Linked DNA regions of Homo sapiens: all the other regions are linked to region 1. Evidence: promoter capture Hi-C in 16 types of primary human blood cells and fetal thymus (Javierre and others, 2016). All regions are on one chromosome and are shown on one strand. The core of a region is centred on a gene start or on the middle of the fragment in contact, and the rest is flanking DNA. Distances in the headings are between cores, read along the strand shown.

Evidence for each region. The method cuts DNA at HindIII sites, captures the fragments that hold promoters and counts their contacts. A CHiCAGO score of 5 or more calls a contact.
Region 2: a fragment that was not itself captured here is called in contact with the fragment with the promoter of CFAP54 in region 1 in 1 of 17 cell types (naive CD4 T cells); the score reaches 5.6 in naive CD4 T cells.
Region 3: a fragment that was not itself captured here is called in contact with the fragment with the promoter of CFAP54 in region 1 in 1 of 17 cell types (M0 macrophages); the score reaches 5.0 in M0 macrophages.

What each region holds. Positions count from the first base shown.
Region 1 is chr12:96,488,170-96,490,869 of GRCh38, reverse strand. It overlaps CFAP54 (cilia and flagella associated protein 54), which reads right to left and starts at 1,293. Exons shown (of 68, transcript NM_001306084.2): 1 at 944-1,293. The coding sequence starts at 1,260. RefSeq lists an enhancer at 1,045-1,254 and a silencer at 1,145-1,439. The HindIII fragment of the contact is 3,410 bases long and covers 1-1,848 here.
Region 2 is chr12:98,589,297-98,591,996 of GRCh38, reverse strand. It overlaps the pseudogene PPIAP8. Among named protein-coding and RNA genes, the nearest start is that of SLC25A3, 3.0 kb to the left of the region's middle. The HindIII fragment of the contact is 4,505 bases long and covers 1-2,700 here.
Region 3 is chr12:98,612,687-98,615,386 of GRCh38, reverse strand. It overlaps a transcript of IKBIP not described here. Among named protein-coding and RNA genes, the nearest start is that of SNORA53, 14 kb to the right of the region's middle. RefSeq lists an enhancer at 2,389-2,578. The HindIII fragment of the contact is 531 bases long and covers 1,006-1,536 here.

The DNA of each region.
Region 1 (2,700 bases), core at 44-2,543:
TGTTTATACCCACAAAAACATATGCTCTATAAGGACATGGATTCTTATATGTTTTGTTAACTTGATGTTTTCCTAGTTCCTTGAACAGCACTTGATATACAGTATGTGCTCAATAAATAGTTGTTATATGCATAAATAAAAAATATTTTATTTTATTTATTTATTATTATTATTTTTTGAGAAGGAGTCTTGCTCTGTCGCCCAGGCTGGAGTGTAGTGGCGCGATCCCAGCTCACTGCAACCTCTGCCTCCCGGGTTCAAGCAATTCTCCTGCCTCAGCCTCCTGAGTAGCTGGGAGTACAGGCATGTGCCACCATGCCCAGCTAATTTTCGTATTTTGTATTCATGTATAAATTTTTGGCTCGCTCAAGGGTTTCACAACTTTCCATGTTATGAGTATATAAATTTGTATATGGAGAAAAAGGAATAACTTCGAGGTAGCTCAGGTTCATGAAGCTAGCTCTTGATACAATGAAGTATGTCATCCTGTGAACATGTGCACTTTAATTCCTTCTTATATTGCTATTAGGATTACAGTGACTTTTTCTTAATTTTGCTATTCATTCTGCGCAACTGTTTGCCTTTTTGGGAGTTCTATCACCATGTTATTACTGCAAACTGCGAACTCTTTTTAAGGTTCTTTCCTGCTTATGTTACCATCTTTCTTTTCTGGTCAAATAACAAATGGTGAGTTATGAAACATTTCTGTGTAGATTTTTATTTTGACCTGAGCAGGAAGCCAAGATATAACAGCTCCCAGGAATTAAGGATTGTTAAGAGCGACGAGTCTCCACTTCTTAAACTTTGTCTCTCCTGGGCCCTTCAGCCAGCCCCTGCGTCCGCAACGCTGAACCATCTCTGGGGCCACCACCTGCATCCTCCAGCCCTTTCCAGGGGTCCCTCCTCTGGCCGGCGCCCTCCCCAGTGCCCCGCCAGCGCTTACCAACGCCGGCGGAATTCGTGCTTCTCTTCCTCCGTGGTGGCTAAAGCCTTCTTTTTCCTCATAAAGCCTAACAACTCCTGGATCTCCTTCTCACAAGAGGCCAGGAGCGGGTTTTTCGCGTCCAGCGGCCCATAAAACACGGCTAGGGGCAATGAGTCCTCGGGGCAGGTCCACTGAAGCAGCGAGCTCCGGGAGCTCCCCTTCGACTCTGGGGGCGACCTCGAAGTCGCGGTGGAGGTCGGCGGCAGTTCTGGCAGAGACCCCGAGGTGGTAGAGTCGTCTGACGGAGAGCTCGAGGGGGAGCCCTGCGCCGCCATATTGACGCGCCCCGGCCCGCCTGGAGTATGTGTACACGCGGTTGCCTGGCGACGGTCTCGTGGCAACCGGGCATCCCGCGCGCATTCCGAGAAACACAGCGGCCCCTGGAGGGCAGAGCGAGAAAGAACCAGGTCCAGAAAACAATGATGCTCCTGAGGGCGTTGCCTGGTTGTGCGCTGGCACCGCTGTATGAAATGCGAACAGAGAATGTTCTGAGCAGAGCGCTGGCGAATATTAGAGCCAAAAATTTAAGGTCACAAATCCAGACTATACTCTTTATCCATGTTGGCCACTTAATAACGATAATGATGACGACCATGACCATTAACGTGTGTCAGGCATTAAGCATTTGAAACATGTACTTTCATTTATCTCATTTAATCATCATAACTACTTTACAACTTAGGATACTATTAGTATATCCATCTCACAGTTTAGGAAACCAAAGCTCAAGGAGGTTAAGTCATTTGACAAAAGTCAGCGTACAACCGTAGTGTCAGCGACCAGGTCCTCCAAAGGGAACTTGTGACTCCAAAGCCTGTGCTCAAAATGAATAGGCTGTATTGATCACTCCCCAAAACAAAGCTTATTAATCAAATTGAAATTAGAGAAATATCTGACAAGCAGTTTAAGAATCAAATACAGTTGGCCCTCCAAATCTCGGGTTCTTCATCTGTGGATTCAAGCAACTCCAGATTGTAAATATTCAGAACAAAATTAGAAATAACAATACAACAATAAAAATAACACAAAATACAACTATTTACATGGCATTTATACTGTATTAGGTATTACTAGTTATCTAGAGATGATTTAAAACATCCTGAAGGATGTGCACAAATTATATGCAAATACTACAGCATTTCATATCAGAGGCTTGAGCATCCACAGATTTTGGTATCTGCGGGTGTCATGGAACTAGTCCCCCACAGATAGCCAGGGAGTACTGAATATGCAGCTGATCCATTCTCTTTCCTCTATTTGTACCTTGAGGTCTGTAACTGTGGACATGATGTCTATGCCTCTAATAATTATGATTACATCTATTTATGCACATTCCAGCCTTACTTTAATTATCTCTGTATTCTAAATTAATGTGCATTTTGCTCAACCTTAACCATAGGACATTAATACATACTAGTGGCCTGAAGTGTTAACTCTCAAAATACTTTGCATTTTAAACAGGGCTTTTAGGAGACTTTACTTCTGATGGGGAAACTACAGACCTCCAGGGAAATACTTGGGGAGTTTATTCTTAGCCTGTGTATTATAGGCAAAAGTCAGAGTTAAATTTATTAAAGTATGAGTATTGAGAAAATGGAGAACCTTCTTTTCTATAAATTATGCAACACAATAAATTATCTAAGAGAAGAACCAGAAATATTTGGTGGCTTAGAAAAATCAGTCTTTAACCCTGAAAATTGTTACCAGTTCTATCA
Region 2 (2,700 bases), core at 15-2,514, 2.1 Mb before region 1:
GAGCAAGACTCCGTCTCAAAAAAAAAAAAAAACAAAAAAACAAAAGTTAGCATTGAGGCTGCGGCATCACGGCACTCTCTAAGCAACCCTATCCCAGACCCAGCCCTTCTGGCCCAACTAAAGTCCTACAGTCCCAGGAAGAATTCCAGAGTGGAGGGCACAGGAAGGGAAGTAGTGACAGATAAAGTTAAAAAAGTACACTAGCACCTGATTGTCCAGGGCCTCACATACCAGACTGAGGAGTCTGATCTTATGTAGACAGAGGTAGTCACTGAAGGGTCTGGACTTTCTCTCTCTCTTTTTTGGTTAATTCAACTTTATGGTGCTTTTCTAATTTAAAAATCCTTTGTCATGAAAAAGTCAAATATTATGTAAAAATATATGACTGTAGTGAATCTTCCTATTCCCTTCCCCCAGCACCGGGTAATACCGTGACCCTTTGCTGCACATTTTTTCAGCTGGAACAGCTGGTACCCTTCACCATGGGGCTGCACATGCTCGTGGCCCAGAACTCACAGAAGTTGATCTAGAAGATACAGTGGTAACTGAAGGAGCTGCAGGCCCAGCTCCTACCCCATGTGGGAGCTGGTGACCTTCAGAATGTAATGACTGTTGCTCCACTTCTGCCTTCCAAACTGCACACATTTCTCTTATAGCTAGCCCTAACCCAAAACTATGCAGGGAAAGGAATCTAGGAAATGTGGTTCTAGCCTAGCTAAGTTGACATGGTAAAAAAAACACCACTGGGCTTTGCAGGCACCGCTGCTGCCAGGAGCCCTGTGCTATCAGCCATGGTCAACCCCACCGTGTTCTTTGACACGGAGCCCTTGGGCCGCATCTCCTTTGAGCTGTTTGCAGACAAGTTTCCAAAGACAGCAGGAAACTTTCATGCTCTGAGCACTGGAGAGAAAGGATTTGGCTATAAGGGTTCCTGCTTTCACAGAATTGTTCCAGGGTTTATGTGTCAGGGTGGAGACTTCACATGCCATGATGGCACTGGTGGCAAGTCCATCTACAGGGAGAAATTTGATGACAAGAACTTCATCCGGAAGCATACAGTTTCTGGCATCTTGTCCATGGCAAATGCTGGACCCAACGCAAACAGTTCCCAGTTTTTCATCTGTGCTGCCAAGACTGAGTGGTTGGATGGCAAGCATGTGGTCTTCAGCAAGGTGAAAGAAGGCATGAATATTGTGGAGACCATGGAGTGCTTTGGGTCCAGGAATGGCAAGACCAGTAAGAAGATCACCATTGCTGACTGTGGGCAACTCTAATAAGTTTGACTTGTGTTTTATCTTAACCACCAGACCATTCCTTCTGTAGCTCAGGAGAGCACCCTCCACCCCATTTGCTCGCAGTATCCTAGAATCTTTGTGCTCTCACTGCAGTTCCCTTTGGGTTCTATGTTTTCCTTGTTCCTTTCCATGCCTAGCTAGATTGCAGAGTTAAGTTTATGATTATGAAATAAAAACTAATTAACAACAGCAACAAAAAAAGTACCAGAGTCTATCGGTTGTCAACATGGCATCAATGAACACCTCTTGTAATCATATTTAACTTCCAGACAAAAACTAAAGAGCAAAATCAGACTTCTACCTAACATGAAGCAGCTGTCCCTTGGACAATTGTGAACAAGCTAATTCTACCCAAAAGAGGATACAAAATCCTTTTATCCGTCTTTAGGTGATGTTATTGCAGCAGGTATGGACTAAGACAAGGGGGTTGGCCTCCTTAACATTCAAGAGGCTCTCGGCCTCCAACCTGACACAAGTAGGGAAATTGCCTGAAGGACCATAACTCTCCACTGTGGAGATTCAAATCTGCCTCCCGGGTTCAAGCAATTCTCCTGCCTCAGCCTCCGGAGTAGCTGGGATTACAGGCACGCGCCACCATGCCCGGCTAATTTTGTATTTTTAGTAGAGATGGGGTTTCTCCATGTTGGTCAGTCTGGTCTCGAACTCCCAACCTCAGGTGATCCACCTGCCTCGGCCTCCCAAAGTGGACAGTAGGTTTTAAGAAGAATCAGCAGATCCCGCCAGGCAACCACCTCAGGTGAGGCCATTACAGATTTCACAGGGACGAGGAACATAACCTCCTCAGACAGGAGAGGAAGGGCTTCTTTGACTGACAAGGAGGCTCAACAGAATTTAGGGGTTCTGGCTGGGCATGGTGGCTCACGCCTATAATCCCAGAACTTTGGGAAGCCGAGGTAGGTGGATCTCTTGAGTCCAGGAGTTAAAAACCAGCCTGGACAACATGGTGAAACCCTGTCTCTTAAAAAAAAAAAAAAAAAAAAGCCAGGCATAGTGGCATGCCCCTGCAGTCCCAGCTACGCAAGAGGCTGAGGAGGGAGGATCACTTGAGCCTGGGAAGCAGAGGTAGCAGTGAGCCGAGATCGCGCCATTGTACTCCAGCCTAAGCAACAGTTAGAGATCTTGTCTCAAAAAAGAAAAAAAAAAAGAATATGGGGGTTCATGGTCCTAGTGGAATCATAATCTGCCCAGGTGTCACTATTCCAAAATTTTGGGTCTCAAAACATTGCCCTAACTTTAAACACTATGAGATTGGGAATTCAATTTGCATTGTAATTCAGAATTAGATTTTGAGTTTGATTTTTAGAAAGTACAGTCTTGCAGATACAGCAAAGCAGTCAAGGCGACCAGGTGCGGTGGCTCATGCCTGTAATCTCAGCACTTTGGG
Region 3 (2,700 bases), core at 22-2,521, 2.1 Mb before region 1:
GTGGCACACAACTGTGGTACCATCTACTCTGGAGACTGAGGCAGGAGAATCACTTGAACCCAGGAGGTAGAGGTTGCAGTCAGCAGAGATGGGGCTATTGCATTCCAGCCTGGGTACAGAGTGAGTGAGACTTCCATCTCCAAAAAAAAGAGAGAATTTCTAGGAGAGTAGATCTTAAATATTCTTACTACAAAAAAAAATACATGAGGTGATAGATATGTTCATTAGCTTGATTTAATCATTCACAATATGTGCGTAGATATGTATATCAAAATATTACATTGTACACAATAAATATATACAATTTTAATTTGTCAATTATACCTTAATAAAGCTGAAATAAAAAAGAACTTATGTTGCCTTGTCTCACCTAGCAAAGCTCAACTGGAGGAAACTTCCTTTTCCCTTCTCCAGCAACTGAAAAACCACATCACTGTCTCATGTAGCTCATTTTATTACTGTACAGAAGACCAATTGTGAAAATATTATAATGTAAAAAATGTAATTTCCAGGGACATTTCATGAAATTTTCTTAATGTTTCCTTCTTATTCATTAGTAATTCACTTACATTGTTCTAAATTCTCTTACTTCTGAAGTCGTCTTTTACCATATGCTTTCCAGAAGAACAGTAAAGTGTAGTTAAAAAATAACATAAGGCAGGGCGTGGTGGCTCACGCCTGTAATCCCAGGCATGGATTTAGGAGGCCGAGGTGGGCAGATAACCAGAGGTCAGGAGATCGAGACCAGCCTGTCCAACATGGTGAAGACCCGTCTCTACTAAAAATACAAAAAAAGTTAGCTGAGGTGGGGGCGGGTGCCTGTAATCCCAGCTACTTGGGAGGCTGAGTCAGGAAAATCGCTGGAACCCAGGAGGTGGAGGTTTCAGTGAGCCAAGATCGTGCCACTGCACTCCATCCTGGGTAACAGAACAAGCCTCTGTCTCAAAAAAAAAATTAAAATTAAAAAGAAATATAAAATTTAAGATGAATTTTAAATGGTAAGCTTCTAATACATTTAATCATTGTGATATTATATTTTCTTATAGTGGCAGAAATCTGAAGCTATCATGGAACAATTGAAGTCTTTTCAAATAATTGCTCATCTAAAGCGTCTACAGGAAGAAATTAATGAGGTAAAAACTTGGTCCAATAGGATAACTGAAAAACAGGATATACTGAACAACAGTCTGACGACGCTTTCTCAAGACATTACAAAAGTAGACCAAAGTACAACTTCCATGGCAAAAGATGTTGGTCTCAAGATTACAAGTGTAAAAACAGATATACGACGGATTTCAGGTTTAGTAACTGATGTAATATCATTGACAGATTCTGTGCAAGAACTAGAAAATAAAATAGAGAAAGTAGAAAAAAATACAGTAAAAAATATAGGTGATCTTCTTTCAAGCAGTATTGATCGAACAGCAACGCTCCGAAAGACAGCATCTGAAAATTCACAAAGAATTAACTCTGTTAAGAAGACGCTAACCGAACTAAAGAGTGACTTCGACAAACATACAGATAGATTTCTAAGCTTAGAAGGTGACAGAGCCAAAGTTCTGAAGACAGTGACTTTTGCAAATGATCTAAAACCAAAGGTGTATAATCTAAAGAAGGACTTTTCCCGTTTAGAACCATTAGTAAATGATTTAACACTACGCATTGGGAGATTGGTTACCGACTTACTACAAAGAGAGAAAGAAATTGCTTTCTTAAGTGAAAAAATATCTAATTTAACAATAGTCCAAGCTGAGATTAAGGATATTAAAGATGAAATAGCACACATTTCAGATATGAATTAGTTTGACATTATTGAGATTAGACTAAGGTAATTTTTTTAATGGGACCTCTCATGAGAAGACTGGTAAATCAAAAATAATGATATTTTGGAGCAAAAGTCATTTTATATTTAATCCTATTTTGTACAGTAAAAATAAAACTTTAAAACAGGTTGATTTTCCAAAATAAATATGCTAAAACCTATTTTTGCAACTTTACATAGCAAGAACTTTATCCATCCTTCTGACATACATGTTGTTACCCACACACACACACACACACACACACACACACACACATAGGAGAAGCAGAATGTGCTAGTTAGCATGGGGAGATCTCGAAGGGGCAGGATCTGAATCCCCACTTGCCCTCTCTGGCTGCCAGGGAGCCCAGCATGTGTGTTTAGGGACCTAACTGAAGGGACCCCTCAGGGGACAGGGCTGCGGCATTCATTATCCAGTTAGAGGAAGAGAAACTAGAAAGGTCACAGTGAGCTGCAGGGGAAAAAAAATAAAAGCCTATCTGGGTCCTTCATGGCTTTAGGAAACAGGGAAAGGAACAGTAGTGTCTCGGTCTATTTGGGCTGGTGTATAATAGTATAGCAAGAACTTTAGGTAGCCTGTAACTAACAAATTTATTTCTCACTGTTCTAGAGGCTGGAAAGTCTGAGATCAAGGTACTGGCAGATTCAGTGTCTAGTGTGGGCCCACTTCCTGGTTCATAGCACCTTCTAGCTGTGTCCTCACGTGGTGGAAGGAGCAAGCAGCAATCTGGGGCCTCTTTTATAGGGGCACTAATCCTGTCCATGAAGACTCCTACCTTATGACCTAATCACCTCCCAAATGTCTCACATTGGATTTCAACGTATGAATTTTGGGGAGACACATTCAGGCCATAGCAAGTAGGTTACTTAATAAAAGG